Linked DNA regions of Homo sapiens: regions 1, 3, 4, 5, 6 and 7 are each linked to region 2. The links are contacts of gene promoters, found by promoter capture Hi-C in blood cells and fetal thymus (Javierre and others, 2016). All regions are on one chromosome and are shown on one strand. The core of a region is centred on a gene start or on the middle of the fragment in contact, and the rest is flanking DNA. Distances in the headings are between cores, read along the strand shown. Region 1 holds the start of SNORA58B (small nucleolar RNA, H/ACA box 58B). Region 2 holds the start of UBE2Q1-AS1 (UBE2Q1 antisense RNA 1). Region 3 has its middle 9.3 kb from the start of HAX1. Region 4 has its middle 21 kb from the start of KCNN3. Region 5 overlaps UBAP2L (ubiquitin associated protein 2 like). Region 6 overlaps KCNN3 (potassium calcium-activated channel subfamily N member 3). Region 7 has its middle 3.6 kb from the start of KCNN3.

Region 1 (2,762 bases), core at 140-2,639, 290 kb before region 2:
TATGCATGTGTGTGTGTGCGTACAATGTGTATGTATATGTGTGATGAGAATATCTGCCCTGTTTGAAACACAGCTTCTGGGCCTCAGAAGCCAAAGGCCAGAATGTTCATCTGGAATCCTTTTTGGTTTCTTAGATAATTATGACTATTATTTTATTTTTTGAGGCAGATCTTGCTCTTTTACCCAGGTTGGAGTACAGTGGAACGATCATAGCTAGCTCACTGCAGCCTTGAACTCCTGGGCTCAAGCAATCCTCTCACCTCAGACTCCCCAAGTAGCTAGGACTACAGGTGTGCATCCCCATGCCTGGCTAAGTTTTAAAAATTTTTTTAGAGACAGGGTCTTCCTATGTTGCCTAGGCTGGTCTCAAAATCCCAGGTTCAGACAGTCCTCCTGCCTCAGCCTCTCAAATAACTGGGGTTATATATAGGCCTGAGCCACTACTCCTGGCCCCAAGAATTATTTTCTCTGATTTGATTAAATCCCTAACTCTGAGTGTGTTTGCTGGTCTGGCCTGGTTAGAGGAAAGTTTCCTGACTCAATCTGGGACTTTGAGAATAAGTGGCTGACATTAGTAGCTTTTTGCCCTAGTGTATCTTCTGTGACCTTCAAGTATTTGGTACCTATTAAGATGAAGGATATATGGAAACGTTTTAGAAGATACCTGTTCCTGCCCTCATAGACAAAGTCTAGATAAATTTCATACCGATGACACATCCAAATAACACAGTTACACATTTTTAATTTGTGGTCACTACCTTAAAACCCTGACATTGGAGAAAAGTGAAGTATTCTTTCCAGAGGAGATTATTTTTAAGCCAGATTTTGAAGAGTATAAGAGACAGAGACTTGTAGAATAGAGAGTAAAACTGGTTGTTCGTGTATGTTTTGTGTCTACTCTATTGGTATCAAGAAGCCAGCCTACTAGAATCAGTAGTATTTAGCTCAAGGAAAGCTTCAAGACCTTTCATGAATCATTTAATCTCTGTGTACTTTACTGCTTTTTCCTTAAATAAAATTGAAGGAAATAATCCGTGTCCTGTTCTAACCCAGAATGAGGATGAATGTTCTGTTGAATTAGCTTGTCTCTTGGCTCCTTGTTTTGCTAACATCATGACCAGTTCCTGTTATTGCTATATGTCTGTATCTTTCAGCCACAAGTATATGGTTATGATGACTTGCAGATGCTTCAGACAAGATTTCCATTGGTGAGTATGTGGGATAGAGCTTTGGAAAAGAAAGTAGTCTTAAAATTAGTGTTGGGAGAATTATCTCCGTCACAGACATAGCTCTTTCCCATCCCAGCCCTCCATACACTCTGATTTAAGGCATATTAGAATATAGGGATTTGGGGGAGGGTTTCCAACAGAAGATAACTTTTTTTTTTGAGACAGAGTCTTTCTCTGTCGCTCAAGCTGGAGTGCAGTGGTGTGATCTTGGCTCATTGCAACCTCCGCCGCCTGGGTTAAAGCAATTGTCTGCCTCAGCCTTCCGAGTAGCTGGGATTAAAGGTGCCCACCACCACCCCCAGCTAATTTTTTTTGTATTTTTAGTAGAGGCGGGGTTTCACCATCTTGGCCAAGCTGGTCTTGAACTCCTGACCTTATGATCCACCCGCCTCTGCCTCCCTAAGTGCTGAGCTTATAGGCATGAGCCGCCGCACCCAGCCTTTTTTTTTTCTTTTTTTAAATCAGAGTTGTGGCATCTTAGTAAATACATTTTAACCTATTCTATAGCCCAGTAAAGTACTCTGGAGCACTCAGGGTGCTTTCTGTTTGTCCCAGACACTTTAAATTATCGAATGATCTGTTTTCTCAGTAGAATAAGCTTGGTATAAACTGATAGGGATGACACCTAGAGGGTTGAAAATATTGGTCCTCGTGGACTTTGATGTATTCTCAAGTGGGCATACCCGTAGACCTTGTCTGACTGTGCTCATGGCCAGGCAGGGGGGACAGTGTATGCAAGAGTAATGTGGAGTTTGTGCTAACTCTAGCCAGCTTAATTAGTGACTGGATAAATTGCACAACTCTCACATTCTTCTGTTTTTTCCTCCGTGGAAATAGTACTCATGCTGGGGAATGAGTGACATTGAATCTCTGCTCTTTTTTCCCCTCTTTTCTAGGATTACTACAGCATCCCATTTCCCACACCCACTACTCCGCTGACTGGGAGGGATGGTAGCCTGGCCAGCAACCCTTATTCTGGTAGGATTGGGATGGGACTAAATAAATAAAAAGGGAGATAGTGTTGGGATTGATGGCAGACACCTGATTGGTAGCAAGAAGGGATGTGATAAATCAGGATTGGTAGATTCAAAATCCTGCTAAAGTTGGGCATGTCATGGCTTTTCCTATTCATCCCACTTTGTGTTGTCTCCCTGTGATTTCTAGATGATATCTTAGCCAGGCATGGTAGCACACACTTGTAGTCTCAGCTACTTGGGAGGCCAAGGTGGGAGAATTGCTTGAGCCCAGGAGTTCAAGACCAGCCTGGGCAACATAGCAAGACCCCATCTCCAAAAAAAGTGATATCTTGACTTAGTTTCAAGCCATTTGCTAGCTTTTTCCAGGAAATACAGTGGTTGAGGTGGTCTTCTCTGCTCATCTCTGCCCCTTTATGCTACTACTCACAGTGGCAATCTCACTGCCTTGCCACTCCTTCTTTTACCTGACCTATCATTGTCCTCATTGACTTACCGTTTTCCCTGATCCATCGTTGTCCTTCAAGTCCAGCATGGGGTATTCCCCATGGAGGAGAAG
Region 2 (2,700 bases), core at 86-2,585:
AACCACTGCCCACACCCGCTCCGGGACCCTGAATGAAAATGCTGGATGGGGCTGCCCTGGAGATCCCACCACAGTAGCCCCACTCACACTCCTCCTCAACTTCCTCTCCAATCCCAGAGTCCCCACTCACTTGAGGAGTTTGACATTCCAATCATACAGACTGTCATTCACGAGTTCGACTGCATAGTTTCCTGGAAGGAGGGAAAAAACAGGTGTTAGTAGAATGGTCCAGGTGGTGAGTGGTCTCTAATGCAGACCCCTTTCCCAGACTGAGAGAAAAAGATCAACAGCTCTAGGTTCACCACAGATGGACATGCAACCAAGCCACTGGCTTGAGGAGCTCCATTCTTGGCCTGAAAAGTTCATAAGCACTCCTGGACCCCAGAACCTCTTGGGCCCCTTGCCACCATACCCTTCTTTATGGGTGACTCTTGTGCAGGCCCCTCTCTGGGGCAAACTCACCGCCTTTGAAACTCTGTGATCGGTATATATCCCTGAGCTCCTTCATCAGCCGGTCAGTGGCCTGCACCGAGCCAGACACTGCACCCTGTGAGGGACGGATGACAGGAACATTCCTTGGTCGTGTGGTTTATAAACACACGTTAGACCTTAGGGGCAGTCTGGCAGCTTGCCCAGGATTTAAGAAAGGATTAGGCACAAAAAAGGAGTCTGCTCTCCATACTGAGATGCGATGGCCTACTACTTCCCAGCCATTTCCCACCAACCCCTTCACCAGCCTCTCTCTAGAAGGCACGTACATTTAAGTAATCTTGCCTCTGGTTCTTTTTAATTTTCTCTAGGATGGCCAAGTTTTCTTTTCCAATGCCATCATCTTCAGATTTCTTGCCCTCAGCTGGCTCTTCCTCTTTCATTTCATAGTGATCTAAGTCTTCTGTGTCCTGGAGGAGGTGTGGGGTGGGAGTGAAAAGAAAAGGAAAAAAACCGACACAGGTTAGAGAATGACCATCACCTTCCCAGTCCCATTTGGCGAAGAGCCAAAAGTTAAAGTGAAGCAGTCCATCTAGCAGTCTTATAAACGCAACGTGCTTTCCATTTTTAGAACAATTTCCAGCCCCATTCCCTCCACAGTCTAAATCTTCAGCTCTCAAGCTACAGCAAGGACTTCGGAAACGAGCAGAGCTGCAGCTGAGATCGAGGCAGGGACTTAGCCCTCTTGTTTCCTGGACTGACCCTGCTCCAACTGTTCCTAAAACTCCCTTGGCAGCAGAAACTCTTCCCTAATTCCTAGCAGAAATGACTTGGGCCTGACCCTGTGACTCAAAGCTCATGTTTCACCAGGTGACTATTGCACCCGGGAGTTCTCAGGGCCCCAAGCCTAAAGGAGAAACCTGAATCATTACATCTCCTCTCCTCGCTACAAATGCAAGGCATGAATCAGGTATGCAGAGGCACGCACTGCCAGATGGAAATGAGAAAGGATGTCCAGAGAGATATATGGAAGAGGTCAAGAACAGAATTAGCCCCTTATTCATCCTGCTCTAAGTGAGCAAGCAACTAGCTCACTGAGCATAGGGAAGGAGGAGAACCTATGTAGGGTTGAGCCCCTCAGCCAGATGTTGGGGGTGTGGCCCAGAGGGCTGTCCACTATCTGGGAGGAGTAAATTTCATGTCGTCAGCCCTTTGCCAGTCTCAAGAACCTTACACGGTTATAGAACCTGGGATATTAATCTAATGCTAGGAAATAAAAGTAATCAGAGTGATCTCCCCATTTCTGGCAGGACATACCTAATTACCACACCAGCAGGTAATGTCTACTGAGTGTTTATTACATGCCAGGTTCTGTCCTAGGTGCCGCAGATACTAGCTCATTTCATTCTTACCACCATCACTCATTATTCTATCATTATCCATTTTATAGATGCGGAAGCTGAGTCTAGTGAGGTCAATTATCATGCCCAAAGTCACAGCTCTTAGCAGAGCTAAGATTCAGTCAAGTTCTGTCTAGCTCTAAAGCTCAAATTCCTAACCATGATTTTATATTCTGTATGTTTTTAGAGAATATATCAGATAGATTGTTTAGCATTTATCATGTATCATCTGAAGCATTTTATATATAACACCTCATTTAATCTCAAGACAACCATATGCAGTAGGTATTATAATCCTACTTTATAGATAAGAAAACTGTAGCTTAGTGAGATTACATAAAATTCCTCAATTAGGATAGCTAGGATGCAAACACAGGTTTGTTGGACTCCAAAGCCATTTGAAATTAACTTACCCAGTATTTGGTTTGAACCGCGCTGCACCTGTCTTCAGTGGTTGGATATGGGTGCCCTGTCTCCTCTACTACACTGGCTATTCCTCCAGGTCAGTAAATCTGTCTTTATTCCTTTGATATTTTTCTCTCTCCAGTTTTAGACTGGAGTTCTGGATATGGGTACCAATGTTGCTGACTGCAAGAGCTTCCAGCCAATGCCACCTCAGGGGGCAAGCCTACCTCAGGCATCTCCTCATCTTCATCTTCTGAAGACACGTCTTCCTGTGTGCACTGCAGCAAGGAAGGGAAAGATGGAGATCAGAGCCCCAGTGGCTTGCTAGAATGCAGCCTCCAACCTACTCCCCTGAGCCCCCAGGTCTGGAAGTTGTGCGCCTGCCTGTAATGCTGCCAGTCTCTCCACCAGCCAGATCTGAGTGGAAGCAACAGCCCAGGGAATGGCTTTGCTACCAGCCCATTAT
Region 3 (2,716 bases), core at 56-2,555, 270 kb before region 2:
GTTTCCCAGGCTGGAGGGCAGTGGTACAATCTCATCTCACTGCAACCTCCACCTGTAAGTGGAGGCTCAGGCGATTCTCCTGCCTGAGCCTCCCGAGTAGCTGGGACTACAGGCTCAAGCCACCACACCCGGCAATTTGTTTTTTTTTTTTTTTGAGACAGTCTCACTCTGTTGCCCAAGCTGGAGTGTAATGGCACGATCTTGGCTCACTGCAACCTTCGCCTCCCGAGTTCAAGTCATTCTCCTGCCTCAGCTTCTCAAGTAGCTGGGATTACAGGTGCATACCACCACGCCTGGCTAATTTTTGTATTTTTAGTAGAGACGGGGTTTCACCATGTTGGCCAGGCTCTTGAATTCCTGACCTCAGATGCCCGCCTCGGCCTCCCAAAATGTTGGAATAACAGGCATGTGCTACTGCGCCCAGCCTACATTTCTGAGTTTTTAATGGAGACAGGCTTTCACCATGTTGGCCAGGCTGGTCTTGAACTCCTGACCTCAAGTAATCCACCCACCTTGGCCTCCCAAAGTGCTGGGATTACAGGCATGAGCCACTGCACCTAGCCTATTGATTCATATTTCTAAGCACTATAAAGATGTATGTACTTGGCCGGGTGCAGTGGCTCATGCCTGTAATCCCAACAGTTTGGAAGGCTGAAGGGAGAGAATGGCTTTAGCCCAGGAGTTGGAGACAGTCTGGGCAACATAGTGAGACCCGTCTCTACAAAAAATTAAAGATTAGCCAGGCAGGGTGGTGCACACTGTAGTCCCTGCTACTGGGAAGGCTGAGGTAGGAGGATCGCTTGAGTCCAGGAGTTCAAAACTGCAATGAGCTATGATTGTGCCACTGCACTCCAGCCTGGGTGACAGAGTGAGACTCTGTCTCTAAAAACAGAAATAAAACCCACAAATGTGATAGAGTTCAACTCTCCAAAGTTGAACTCTCCACAAAGTAAACAAAATAACTGATCAAAAAATAAGAGAAAAAAGGCTGGACGCAGTGACTCACGCCTATAATCCCAGCACTTTGGGAGGCCGCGGCGGGCGGATCATGAGATCAGGAGATCGAGACCATCCTGTATAACACGGCGAAACCCCATCTCTACTAAATATACAAAAAATTAGCTGGGCGTGGGGGCGAGTGCCTGTAGTCCCAGCTACTTGGGAGGCTGAAGCAGGAGAATGGCGTGAACCCAGGAGGTGGAGTTTGCAGTGAACCGAGATCACGCCACTGCACTCCAGCCTGGGAGAGAGAGTGAGACTCCATCTCAAAAAAAAAAAAAAAGAAAAAAGAAAAGAAAAGAAAGAAAAACATAAAACTAGAACGGCATAAATTATCAATGAAATAAGTCATGAAAATATTCCAGAATTGAAGAATATTACTTAATTTTTTTTGAGACAGAATCTCACTCTGTCACCCAGATTGGAGTGCAGTGGCACAATCATAGCTCATTGCAGCCTCGAATTCCTGGGCTCAAGCAATCCTCCTGCCTCAGCCTGAGTGGCTGGGACTATAGGTGTGCACCACCACACCCGACTAATTTTTGTTTTTTGTTTTTTGTTTTGTTTTGTTTTGTTTTGTTTTTGGTAGAGACGGTGGTCTTGCCATGTTGCCCTGGCTGGTCTCCAACTCCTGGGCTGAAGTTATCCTCCCACCTCGACCTCTCAAAGTGCTGGAATTACAGGAAAGAGCCACTGTGCCCGGCCTGAAGGATATTACTTTCTAACCTGAAAGGACTTGCCACATGCCAGACACCAAGGGTGAAAATAAACCCACTCTAAGGCATGCCATATGAAATTTTAGAACACTGGAGACAACAGAGTTTAAAAGATTCTAGAGGGAGAGAGAAAGAAAAATGGGGCACATGTTCTCAGGATCTCCTGAGGGCTGTGTCAGTGGATAACAAAATAACCTAAAGGATCAAGAATCATAATATTCTCAAACTTTATCAGCAACACAAAGTATAAGACAATGGAGATCCAGCAATCCAGCTACTAGGTATATATTCAAGGCAACTGAAATCAGTATGTTGAAGAGATACCTGCACTGCCATGTTCACTGCAGTACTGTTCACAATAGCTGAGAGTAGGAATCAACCCAAGTCTCCTGCAGTGGGTTAATGGATAAAGAAAATGTGGCATATATACACAATGCAGTACTATTCAGCCTTACAAAGGAATGAAGCCTGGCTCGGTAGCATGCTCATGTTGTCTCAGCTACTCAGGAGGCTGAGGCAGGAAGATTGCTTGAGCCAGGGAGTTCAAGGTCAGCCTGGGCAACATAGCGAGACGTCATCTCTAAAATAAAGACATTCTTTACAGAAAAAATAGAAAACAAAGAATGAGATCCTGTCATTTACAACATCGATGAACCTAGAGCACATTATGTTAAGTGAAGTAAGCCAGGCACAGAAAGACAAATACCACATGATCCCACTTATATATGGAATCTTAAAAAAACCTCATGCAGGTAGAGAGTAGAATGGTGGCTACCAGAGACTAGGGGGTGGTGAATGCTGGGGAGACATTGGTCAATGGATACCAAATTTCAGTTGGACAGGAGGAATAAGTTCAAGAGATCTATTGTACATCATGGTGACTACAGTTAATAACAATGTAGTTGGCTGGGCACAGTGGCTCATGCCTGTAATTCCAACACTTTGGGAGGCCAAGGCAGGAGGATCACCTGAGGTCAGGAGTTTGAAACCAGCCTGGCCAA
Region 4 (2,700 bases), core at 3-2,502, 340 kb after region 2:
CAAGCTCTGCCTCCCGGATTCACGCCATTCTCCTGCCTCAGCCTCCTGAGTAGCTGGGACTACAGGGGCCTGCCACCATGCCCGGCTAATTTTTTGTATTTTTAGTAGAGATGGGGTTTCACCATGTTAGCCAGGATGGTCTCGATCTCCTGACCTTGTGATCCGCCCATCTCAACCTCCCAAAGTGCTGGGATTACAGGCGTGAGCCACCGCGCCCGGCCTATGCAACCTTCTTAATATGTGACTCCATATGTTGAAGCCGACTTGAATTGGTTTTCTATTGTGTACTGCCGAAATCATCATAATCAACCTAGACTACAAGAATGGAAGCCATACGATAAAACAGTCCGGGCGCAGTGTCTCATGACTATAATCCCAGCACTTTGGGAGGCCAAGGTAGGGGAAGATTCCCTGAGCCCAGGAGTTCAAGACCAGCCTGGACAACATGGTGAGACCCTATCTCTAAAAAAGAAAAAGTATAAAAACAAAAAATAATCATGAAAAGTTTTAAAAGAAAGTACAGTTAATAGGGTATTCATGATTCTCTTCTTATAACTCAGTTGCTAAAGAGGAAAGACTTACGCATGGAGAAGTTAGAGGAAAATTCAAAGAGGATGGATTAGTTATCTATGGCTCCACAACAAACTACACCAAAACTTAGCAGCTTACACCACAAACATTTATTTATTTATTTATTTATTTATTTAGAGACAGGTTCTCGCTCTGCCACCCAGGCCAGAGTACAGTGGTGCCACCATGGCTCACTGCAGCCTTGACCTCCAGGGCTCAAGCAATCCTCCAATCTCAGCCCCCCACCACCCCCAATAGCTGGGACTACAGGTGCGCATCACCATGCCTGGCTAATGTTTGTATTTGTTGTAGAGATGGTGTTTCACCATGTTGCCCAGGCTGGTCTTGAACTCCTAGGCTCAAGCAATTTGCCCACCTTGGCCCCCCAAAGTGCTGGGATTAACAAACATGTATTGCCTCAAAGCTTTTTTGGGTCAGGAATTAGGGTGCAGCATAGCTGGGTGATTCTGACTCATAGTCTCTCATGGAGTTGCAGTGAAAATGTCAGCTGGGTTCATTTTTTTAGTCTTTTTTCTCTCTGTTTCATGTTGGGTATTTCTATTTATATGTTTTCAAGTTTACCAGTATGTTCTTCCACAATGTCTATCTGCTGTTAAACCCATCCAATATACTTTTCTCAGAGCATCAGTGAGCTTCAAATAACCTAACATATGTGTAATTGGAATCCCAGGGAATAAAGGAAGCTGGGTGGGAGAGGGGAACAGAAAAAGTACTTGAAGAAATAATGGTCAAAATTATTCAAAATTTTATGAAGCTATAAACTCACAGAACCAAGAACCTCAATAAACCCTAAGCACAAGAAACATAAAACTGTACTAAGGCACAGAACAATCAGATGGCTCAAAGCCTATGATAAAGAGAAAAATTTTAAAAGCAACTAGGGACATTACATGAAGAGAAACAAAGATAAGCATGACAAAAAGCTTCCTGTCATAAATAATGCATACCGGAAAATAATGGAAGAATATCTCTAAATACTAAAAGAAAAAAACACTGCCAACTTTGAATTATATCTTTTGAATATATCTTAGATGTATATTATATCTTTGAAAATATATTTTGAGACTGAAGGTAAGATAAGACTTTTTCAGCCATGCAAAAGCTAAAATAATTTATCACCTGAGATACAACAAATGTTAAAGAAGATCCTTGAAGCAGAAAGAAAAGGATAACAGATATATAAATCTACACAAAGGAAGGAAAATCATCAACATTGGCAACTATGTGGATAAGAAAAGGATAAATTAAATGGAATTATTTAAAATATTCAATTAATTCAAAAGTATGCAGAAAAAGAGGGGGAGAGGAAAAAAGAATAGAGGGGACAAACAAAAAAACAAGGCCATAGAAGCTTTAAGCGACACAATCAGCCAAGTTGACCTAACTGACGCTTATAAAACCCTCCACCTAACAACAATAGAATACACGTTATTTACATGTGCACATGGAACATGTTTACCAAAATGGCCATATTCAGGGCCATAAAACAAGTCTCAAAGAATTTTTAAAGTTTCAGGCCATACAAAGTATGTTCTTTGAACATAATGGAATTAAATTAGAAACCAATAACCAAAAGAGCTTTACAAAATCCTCAAACATTTAGGAACACAATAACACACTTCCAAATAACCCATGGTTCAGAGAAGAAATCAAAGGGGAAAACAGGAAGTATTCTAAGTTGAATGAAAAATAAAACATAACATATTTGAGAGAAGCCACAAAAGCAGTACTTAGGAGGAACTTATAGCACCAAATACCTATATTAGAAAAGAAGAAACTTCTCAAGTAAATGACTTCAGCTGGTACCGTAAGAAATTAGGAAGAGAGCAATTAAATCTTAAGTAAACTAAAGAAAAGAAATAATAAAGATCATAGTGGAAATCAATGAGATATAAAACAGAAAAACAGAAGAAAAAATCTGTAAGCCAAAAGCTGCACTTTGAAAAGATCAATAACATCAATAAATCTCTAACCAGGCTTATCAGGAAAAAAGAAAGAAGTCAAAAATTAATCAATAATCAGGAATGAGAGAGGTAATATCCCTACCAATTCTTAAATATTAAAAGGATTATAAGAAAATATTATAAACAACTCTATGCCAATAAATTT
Region 5 (2,757 bases), core at 210-2,709, 320 kb before region 2:
ATTGATCTTCAGAATGTTCCTGCAGTGCTTACTAGAGAAATTTTGTTTTTTTAATGAGCAGTGTATTATTATTATTATTATTATTTTGAGCCAGGGTCTTACTCTGTGGCCCTGGCTGGAGTACACTGACATGCTGCAACCTCCTCGTCCTGGGCTTAGGTGATCCTCCTACTTCAGCCTCCTGAGTAGCTGGGACCACAGGCATGGGCCACCATGTCCAGCTGATTTTCCCATTTTTAGTAGAGCCAGGGTTTCTCCATGTTGCTCAGGCTGATTTCAAACTCCTGGACTCAAGCTAGCTGCCCGCCTCGTCCTCCCAAAGTGCTGGGATTATGGGCATGAGCCACCGCACCTGGCCCAGTGTATTATTTTGAAATCATTTTCATTTATTGGGTCTTATACTGGGGCTCTTTGGTTGGAATAGATATCAAAATTCATCCTTACAGATAACAACTTGTTTTTTTTCTTGAGTCAGAGTCTTGCTCTTGTTGCCCAGGCTGGAGTGCAGTGGCGTGAACCTGCTCTCTGCAGCCTCCACCTCCCAGGTTCAAGTGATCCTGTGCCTCAGCCTCCAGAGTAGCTGGGATTACAGGCATTCACCACCATACCCAGCTAATTTTTTTTTTTTGAGACGGTGTCTCTCTCTGTCTCCCAGGCCGGAGTACATCTCGGCTCACTGCAAACTCTGCCTCCTGGGTTCAAGCAATTCTCATGCCTCAGCTTCCCGAGTAGCTGGGACTACAGGCATGCACCACCATGCCTGGCTAATTTTTTGTATTTTAGTGGAGACAGTGTTTCACTATGTTGCCCAGGGTGGTCTTGAACTCCTGAGCTCAGGCAATCCTCCTGCCTCGGCCTTCCAAAATGTTAGGATTACAGGCGTGAGCCATGAAACCTGGCCTCAGATACAACAGCTTTCTGATACTACAGAGTCACTCCAGCTAAATGCAGGAGGTTTGTCAATTTCTTTGAGACAATGGGAAATAATAATGGAAAACTTTTAAAAACAATTGAATTTAAATTGGTGGGTTTTTTCTTCAAAAGTGTTATCCTGGATTAAATTTTACACTGTTGACCTTATTTGAATATTTACTATCTGGCCAATCAAGATATGCTTTTGATTTGTTTTGGGTTTACTCTAGAATAATTGTCTCCAGATTTTATGGGGGGAATCAGGTGGGGCTATTTATGTTTTTTTAAAAGTCTGAATGTTTTTTCGCAAATCACATTTTATCTTACCTTCCAGCATCTTCTGTCTAGTGCTATAAGGCTGATGTTATACAGTATCAAAAAGGAAAATAAGCTGGAGAATATAGGTTTATGTTACGAATAAACTAGCTACTAGTGAAACCAATGGGAAGCAAAGTCAGCTCCCAGGGATATTGGATGTATTTGGGTGGGTGAGATCATTTCAGAAAACTGAAGTCGCCTTTGGGAAGATAATAGTAATTCTTTCTCCTGACCCATCTTGTGCCAGCAACAGATGTGCATACAGAGGAGGGAGAAAGGTTACAGTTTCCTGAAACTTGCCAGGTTTTGAGATAGCAGCATAAATTCTAAAAGCTGTTTTGAGTCTAGCTTCCAGAGTGTTCCTGGTGTATATTTAGCTACAGGGTTGTTCTAACTTACTGTGAGCATAAAATGACCCACTAACTGTAATGTATAATAGGCTTGGGTTGGAAGAGTAGGCAGCAACAAACTACCAAGTCTTGGGTAGGTAATCTTTTTAAAACAAATGAATTAAGAGATGGGGTCTTGCCCTGTCACCCAGGCTGGAGTGCAGTAGCATGATCACTGCAGCCATGGACACCTGGGTTCAAGCAATCCTCCCACCTCAGCCTCTTTAGTAGCTGGGACAACAGGTGTGCGCCACCACACTTGGCTTTTTTTTTTTTTTCTTTTTTCTTTTTTTTGAGATGGAGTCTTGCTCTGTTGCCCAGGCTGGAGTGCAATGGTGAGATCTCGGCTCACTGCAGCCTCTGCCTCCTGGGCTCAAGCGTTTTTCCCACCTCAGCCTCCCAAGCAGCTAGGGCCACAGGTGTGTGCCACCACACCTGGCTGATTTTGGTATGTTTAGTAGAGACAGGGTTTTGCCATGTTGCCTAGGATGGTCTCTAACTCCTGGCCTCAAGTGATCCACCCTCCTTGGCCTCGGAAAGTGCTGGGATTATAGGTGTGAGCCACCATCCCCGGCCCTGTTTTCTATTTCTATGAATTTGCCTGTTTTAGAGATCTCATGTAAGTGAAATCATGTAATATTTGACCTTGTATGTCTAACTTACTTCACTTAGTGTAATGTTTCAAGGTTCGTCCATATTGTGGCATGGGTCAGAATTTCATTCCTTTTTAAGGCTAATATTCCGTTGTACATATATGTGGCATTTTGTTTACTCATCAGTGGACACTTGGAATTATCTGGAAGTTGTAGACATAATACTTGATACCCTTAAGTTCTTCAACATGCTTCCCTTAAAGGAGGATACTCTTACATTACCATAATACTATTATCAATCCTGATAAGGTTAATAATTTTGTATTATCTAATACTCAGCCCATATTCTGAAAGTGATTAGACATTAGGTAGCTGTTACTGAGCACTAGGGCCATGATTGAGTTTGATGGTAAGATAATAAAGATCTGAGGCTGTGCACAGTGGCTCACACCTGTAATCCCAGCACTTTGGGAGGCCATGGCGGGCGGATCACGAGGTCAAGTGATCAAGACCATCCTGGCCAACATGGTGAAACCCCATCTCTA
Region 6 (2,821 bases), core at 22-2,521, 300 kb after region 2:
CCCTCCTCTTGCTCCCATCTCACCCAGGGTAAAGGCCACACTCCTCAGGACGGTCTACAAATCCCTGCAGAGCCAGACCCGCCTCCCCTGTGACCTCACAACCCCGCCCACATGATCCCTCCACTCACTGAATCAGCCTCACAGGCATCCTCTCTGCTCCCAGGCCTGCACCGTCCAGTGTGAGGACACGAGCCACGTGTGTCCACTGAGCCCCTGCAACATGACCAGTGCAACTGGATTTTAAGTCCATTTCATTTAAAATTAAATATAAAAAGACACTCCACTCTTTTATTGGAAAAATTTTAAGTACGTTTTCAACAACTTGAGTGTGTGAATCTATTCTTTTTTTTTTCTCGGACGGGGAGTCAGGGTCTTGCTCTGCTGCCCAGGCTGGAGTGCAGAGGCACACGCATGGCTCACCACAGCCTCAACAGCAAGCTATCCCCCACCTCAACCTCCCAAGTAGCTAGAACCACAGGCATATGCCACACACCCAGCTAATTTTTTTTTTTTTTTTTTTTAGAGAGATAGAGTCTCACTGTGTTACATTACCCAGGCTGGACTCGAACTCCTGGCCTTAAGCAATCCACCTGCCTCTGCCTCCCAAAGTGCTGGGATTACAGGTGTCAGCCACCATGCCCAGCAAGTCTGTTCTTTTAATTGTAAATTTTATAAACTCTAAATACAGATCAAGTATCTCCAATGAAAACTTAATGTCTGATTGAGATATGCTGTGTCAGAGACACACCAGATTTCAAAGACTTAGTACAAAAAATAAAGTGTAAAAGATCTCAATAATTTTTTGTATTGCTTGCACATTCAAATAATAATATTCTGGCTATGTTGGGTTAAATTAAAAATATTATTAACATGTATAATTCTACTTTTCTCTTTTCACTATTTTTAATATGGCTACTCAGGAATTTAAAATGACAGCGGTAGCTCCCATTTCGTGTCCACCGGACAGTGCTGTCTACAACACACCAGGCATGATCCCCCCTCAGGGCCTTCACCTTGCTATTCCTCTTCCCCCAGGTGGCTGGATCCCTCACCACTTCAGATCCTCCAATAGACATCACCTTTTTGGTAAGGCCTTCCCTGAGCACTTATTTAATTTATTTATTTATGTGTTTATTTTTAGAGACAGGGTTTCACATGTCACCCAGGCTGGAGCACAGTGGCGTAATCACAGCTCACTGCATCCTCGAATTCCTGGGCTTACGGGATCTTCCCACCCCAGCCACCCAAGTAGCTAGGACTACAGGTGCACACCAATGTACTCAGCTTTTTTTTTTTTTCTGTAAAGATGAGAGTCTTGCCATGCTGTCCTGGCTGGTCTCAAACTCCTGGCTTCAAGCAAGCCTCTTGCCTTGGCCTCCCAAAGTGCCAGGATAATAGGCGTGAGCTACCATGCCTGGCCCTAAGCACTTCTTTATTTGTTTTATTTGTGGTTTTTGTTTTCTGTTTTTGTTTTTGTTTTTGTTTGAGACCAGGTCTCACTCTATTCCCCAGGCTGGAGTGCAGTGGCACGATCACAGCTCACTACAGCTTTGACCTCCTGGGCTCAAGCGATCCTCCCACCTCAGACTCCCAAGTAGCTGGGACCACAGGCACGCACCACCATGCCCAGCTAATTTTTTGTTTTGTTTAGAAGGCGTCTCACTATATGGCCTAGGCTGGTCTCAAACTCCTGAGCTCAAGCGATCCTCCTGCCTCGGCCTCTCAAAGTGCTAGAATTACAGGCATTAGCCACTGCACCTAGCTCTGAGCATTTATTTAAAATGACCACTCTCAGCCGGGCATGGTGGCTCATGCCTGTAATCCCAGCACTTTGGGAGGGCAAGGCAGGCAGATCACTTGAGGTCAGGGGTTCAAGACCAGCCTGACCAACATGATGAAACCCAGTATCTACTAAAAATACAAAAATTAACTGGGCATGGTGGTATGTGCCTGCAATCCCAGCTACTCAGGAGGCTGAGGCAGGAGAATCACTTGAATCTGGGAGGCGGAAGTTGCAGTGAGCCGAGATCACGCCACTGCACTCCAGTCTGGGTGACAGAGTGAGACTCCGTCTCACAAAAAAAAAGCTGGGCGCGGTGGCTTATGCCTATAATCCCAGCATCTCGGGAGGCCAAGGCAGGCAGATCATGAGGTCAGGAGATCAAGACCATCCTGGCTAATATGGTGAAACCCCGTCTCTACTAAAAATACAAAAAATTAGCCAGGTGTTGTGGCAGGCACCTGTGGTCCCAGCTACTCGGGAGGCTGAGGCAGGAGGATAGCGTGAACCCGGGAGGCGGAGCTTGCAGTGAGCCGAGATTGGGCCACTGAACTCCAGCCTGGGCGACAGAGCAAGACTCCATCTCAAAAATAATAATAATAATAAATTAATTTGAAAATAAATAAAATAATATGACCACTCTCCTCTCAGAAGCCCCTGCACTCCCATCCAGAGTGGTCCTAACAATTGTGATTGTTATTGATGATGACAATGATGAAAGGAAAAGAGATGTCTTTTTCCTGTTATCTAACTCTGGCTGTAAAATTAGTTGGGGCCTTAACAGATTGGGATCTAAGACTTGTCAATGGAGTAAGAAGTTGTATCTTGGAGGGAAGAGGCTCTTCATAACACTCATCATAGCACTTATCACCATCGAACATAATATATAATTAACTTAGATAGTTTACTATCAGGCTTATCTATTAAAATGTAAATTCGTGACAGCAAAGATTTTTCTCTTTTGTGGGTTTTTTCTACTACAGTCATGTGTCCCATAATGACATTTCAGTCAAGGTCCTGTACAATTATAATGGAGCTGAA
Region 7 (2,700 bases), core at 194-2,693, 320 kb after region 2:
AGAACCCACCCCCAACCCCTTCAGCATCCTCTGCCTTCCCTGCCCTTCCCTTCTGTATTCTTGATTTCCCTCCCTCTCCTCCATCCGCAGACAGAGCCACCTGCTTGGTTCAAGGCTCCAGATCGCATACTTAGGTTTAATGATCCTCTAATAAATTATCATGAATATGTTGTTAGTAGCAAAAATGTGCTGTTCGTGTTGGTTTTTTAGTGTTGGATACAGTTTTCTGGGCTGTGAAAAATCAATTTTGGAGAACAGGCTCCAGGCCTGGGTATTCCTATGCTCACTCTACCCCCATGAGCTGCCTTCTGCCTCAGCTAACCTTTCTGGCCAGCCTCTTGCCTCCAGTTCTTCTGGCTGTGCCAATGGGATCCAAATGGGGCCTATCAGAGCACGTCCTGCCATCATGGATAAGGATGAAAGATAGCTTGGGTAGAGCCCTAACTATGCCAGCACCAAAGATCAGTGGTTATCTGGAAATGGGCTGGAACTTGACAGCTGATGCCACGGAGCCAGCTCATGCCCCTTGTTACAGCTATCCTGTCATGAACAGGAGGAGGAGGACAATGTCATGTTTAGAGCTTGGGCTCAAGTGTCAGACTGCCCAGGCTGGAACCGTTCTCTGCTGCAGGGATGGCTGTGTGACCACAGGCAAGATGACCTTCTGATCATCCATACACATCTCTTCCTAACTCCACAGTGATGTCACATTAGCAGCTTGAAATCAGCCATGATCAGAGTATTTACACCACAGAAATCGGCTAACACTGTAAATTAGAGCTTATGTTTTCCTGGAAGCCGCTTGCTAAATCTTTCCTGGCTGTTCAACATTTATCAGCATATTACTGCCTCCTATATCATTACATACAGGCTGTGCGCTCCACCCTCTGCCTTCCTTCTCACCAGCACAAGCTTTGCCACTCGCCCACTTTGTGACCAGTTGCTTATGTTCTCAGGCCTTCAATTTCCTTAGTCCAATGAGAGCACCGGCCAAGTACTTTGTAACTGTCAAGCACCGACAGGTTAGTGAATCAGCTGGGAGCTCTCAACCACAGGGCCTGATCATGTCAGGTTTTCCACGTTGCCCTCCAGATGCACCGCACTCAGGCGTCTTCCCGCTGTTGCTGCCTGTCCAAAGCCCCACTGTTGAAAAGCCCCCAATGCTTCCCTTGGCCCCCAGCCACAACCATGTCTTCACAGCAGCCTGTGAGTTGAGGCCATCACCCATTTTATAGATGAAAAAACTGAGGCATTAAAAAGATTTTAAAACTTGCCCAGAGTTACTAATTAGTAACTAGCCATAAAGCTGGAATCAAACCCAGGCCTGTCCAACCTTTTGACAAACCCTCGCCATATGTCCTGAAACCCAAATTTAAAGGATTCATTCTTACTGGTGTTTATTAAACATTACCATGTGACTCACACACCCAACCCTCAGGAACTTAAAGTCTCACTGTAGAGACAAGTTATACTTACATGGGGTGACAAAAAACAGCAATGCAGATCCCAAAGTGTGGGCGAGACAGTAGAGTTCATTGAAGGCAGAGGGTTGTCAAGGGTGGCTTCCTGGAGGTGGTGGGACTTAAGCCACACCTTAAGGAATGGGGAGCAACTCCTTATGCTGCCCTAAGATGACAGGCTGACAAATTAGGCCTCTTTAGTCTGCAAACGGGGGTGTGGAGGAGCTTCTTACCTCAGAGAGACAGGAAGAGCAGACAAGGAAAGTAGGGGTGGCCTTTGGCCATACTGGCTCCACATCAAGTGTACTGGCACTCGGTTTCTGCCCTCCTTTCCAGGCTCATTCCTCACCACCTTCCTCCTTAAGCCCCAGCATCACCGACCTATTGTAGCTCTCCCGTAAGTCATGCTATTTCACATCTCCATGCCCTCTGCCTGGCATGCCCTTCCCCCAGATTTCCATCTAACACATTTCTCTTTGCCTTTCAAGACATGGCTCAAAGGTCTTCTTTCTGAGAAGCTTCCCCTGAACTCCCCAAACCCAAATCAGGAGCTCCTTCTGTATTTTCAGTGCCCTGTGCTAACAGGGCCTCTACGGAGCAACACAGCTGTTATCTCCATATGTGTCCTTTGCCCATAGACCATGACCTCCTTGAGGGCAGGGATGATGTCTTCTTCACAGCTGTACTGCAGCTCTTCCGAAGAGCCGCTTACAATAGATGCTTAGTAAAGATTAATCGAACTGACTAAACTTGAAACCTGGATGAGGTCATTTGAAGGCAAGTAAGGGAAAGTCACAGTACTTTTCACAACAAATCATAAACACAATTTCCTCATCCGTAAAATAGTGAGATAAAAAAGATGATTTCTAAGATCACTCAGCTTTAAAATTCCATAATCTATTGTCTGTAGACCTTGTTATCCCCAAAAGGTAGAACTAACTGAAAATAGGTTTAAGAAAAGTAGTGGTTCATGGTTTATATGGCTGTCTTTCCCACAGGCTGTGACCTGCATAAAAGGGCTCTAAATTTTTTCAGTATCCCCAACACTGATCACGGTGCCTGGCTATGAATTACTCATTAAAGATTTATTGGTCGGACCTGGTGGCTCACGCCTGTAATCCCAGCACTTTGGGAGGCCGATCACAAGGTCAAGAGTTCAAGACCAGCCTGGCCAACATGGTGAAACCCCGTCTCTACTAAAAAAAAACATACAAAAATTAGCTGGGCGTGGTGGCGAGCG

Evidence for each region. The method cuts DNA at HindIII sites, captures the fragments that hold promoters and counts their contacts. A CHiCAGO score of 5 or more calls a contact.
Region 1: a contact is called between a fragment that was not itself captured here and the fragment with the promoter of UBE2Q1-AS1 in region 2, in 4 of 17 cell types (M1 macrophages, M2 macrophages, M0 macrophages and 1 more). The highest score is 7.8, in M1 macrophages.
Region 3: a contact is called between a fragment that was not itself captured here and the fragment with the promoter of UBE2Q1-AS1 in region 2, in 1 of 17 cell types (M2 macrophages). The highest score is 7.5, in M2 macrophages.
Region 4: a contact is called between a fragment that was not itself captured here and the fragment with the promoter of UBE2Q1-AS1 in region 2, in 4 of 17 cell types (M0 macrophages, megakaryocytes, erythroblasts and 1 more). The highest score is 7.8, in M0 macrophages.
Region 5: a fragment that was not itself captured here is called in contact with the fragment with the promoter of UBE2Q1-AS1 in region 2 in 4 of 17 cell types (M2 macrophages, M1 macrophages, M0 macrophages and 1 more); the score reaches 9.2 in M2 macrophages.
Region 6: a contact is called between a fragment that was not itself captured here and the fragment with the promoter of UBE2Q1-AS1 in region 2, in 1 of 17 cell types (M1 macrophages). The highest score is 7.0, in M1 macrophages.
Region 7: a fragment that was not itself captured here is called in contact with the fragment with the promoter of UBE2Q1-AS1 in region 2 in 17 of 17 cell types (M1 macrophages, M2 macrophages, M0 macrophages and 14 more); the score reaches 13.8 in M1 macrophages.

What each region holds. Positions count from the first base shown.
Region 1 is chr1:154,257,823-154,260,584 of GRCh38, forward strand. It overlaps UBAP2L (ubiquitin associated protein 2 like), which reads left to right. Exons shown (of 27, transcript NM_014847.4): 21 at 1,155-1,208; 22 at 2,126-2,207. SNORA58B (small nucleolar RNA, H/ACA box 58B) reads left to right here and starts at 1,905; the gene lies at 1,905-2,040. The HindIII fragment of the contact is 872 bases long and covers 954-1,825 here.
Region 2 is chr1:154,552,274-154,554,973 of GRCh38, forward strand. UBE2Q1-AS1 (UBE2Q1 antisense RNA 1) reads left to right here and starts at 1,336. Exons shown (of 2, transcript NR_046668.1): 1 at 1,336-1,399; 2 at 2,377-2,700. It overlaps UBE2Q1 (ubiquitin conjugating enzyme E2 Q1), which reads right to left. Exons shown (of 13, transcript NM_017582.7): 4 at 2,462-2,512; 5 at 759-899; 6 at 463-547; 7 at 131-191. The HindIII fragment of the contact is 6,880 bases long and covers 1-2,700 here.
Region 3 is chr1:154,280,617-154,283,332 of GRCh38, forward strand. No RefSeq gene overlaps it. Among named protein-coding and RNA genes, the nearest start is that of HAX1, 9.3 kb to the left of the region's middle. The HindIII fragment of the contact is 7,430 bases long and covers 1-2,716 here.
Region 4 is chr1:154,890,124-154,892,823 of GRCh38, forward strand. No RefSeq gene overlaps it. Among named protein-coding and RNA genes, the nearest start is that of KCNN3, 21 kb to the left of the region's middle. The HindIII fragment of the contact is 520 bases long and covers 993-1,512 here.
Region 5 is chr1:154,229,406-154,232,162 of GRCh38, forward strand. The region is part of intron 4 of UBAP2L (ubiquitin associated protein 2 like); the gene reads left to right. Among named protein-coding and RNA genes, the nearest start is that of UBAP2L, 9.8 kb to the left of the region's middle. The HindIII fragment of the contact is 3,253 bases long and covers 1-2,757 here.
Region 6 is chr1:154,851,869-154,854,689 of GRCh38, forward strand. The region is part of intron 1 of KCNN3 (potassium calcium-activated channel subfamily N member 3); the gene reads right to left. Among named protein-coding and RNA genes, the nearest start is that of KCNN3, 17 kb to the right of the region's middle. The HindIII fragment of the contact is 3,549 bases long and covers 1-2,821 here.
Region 7 is chr1:154,872,500-154,875,199 of GRCh38, forward strand. No RefSeq gene overlaps it. Among named protein-coding and RNA genes, the nearest start is that of KCNN3, 3.6 kb to the left of the region's middle. The HindIII fragment of the contact is 1,066 bases long and covers 911-1,976 here.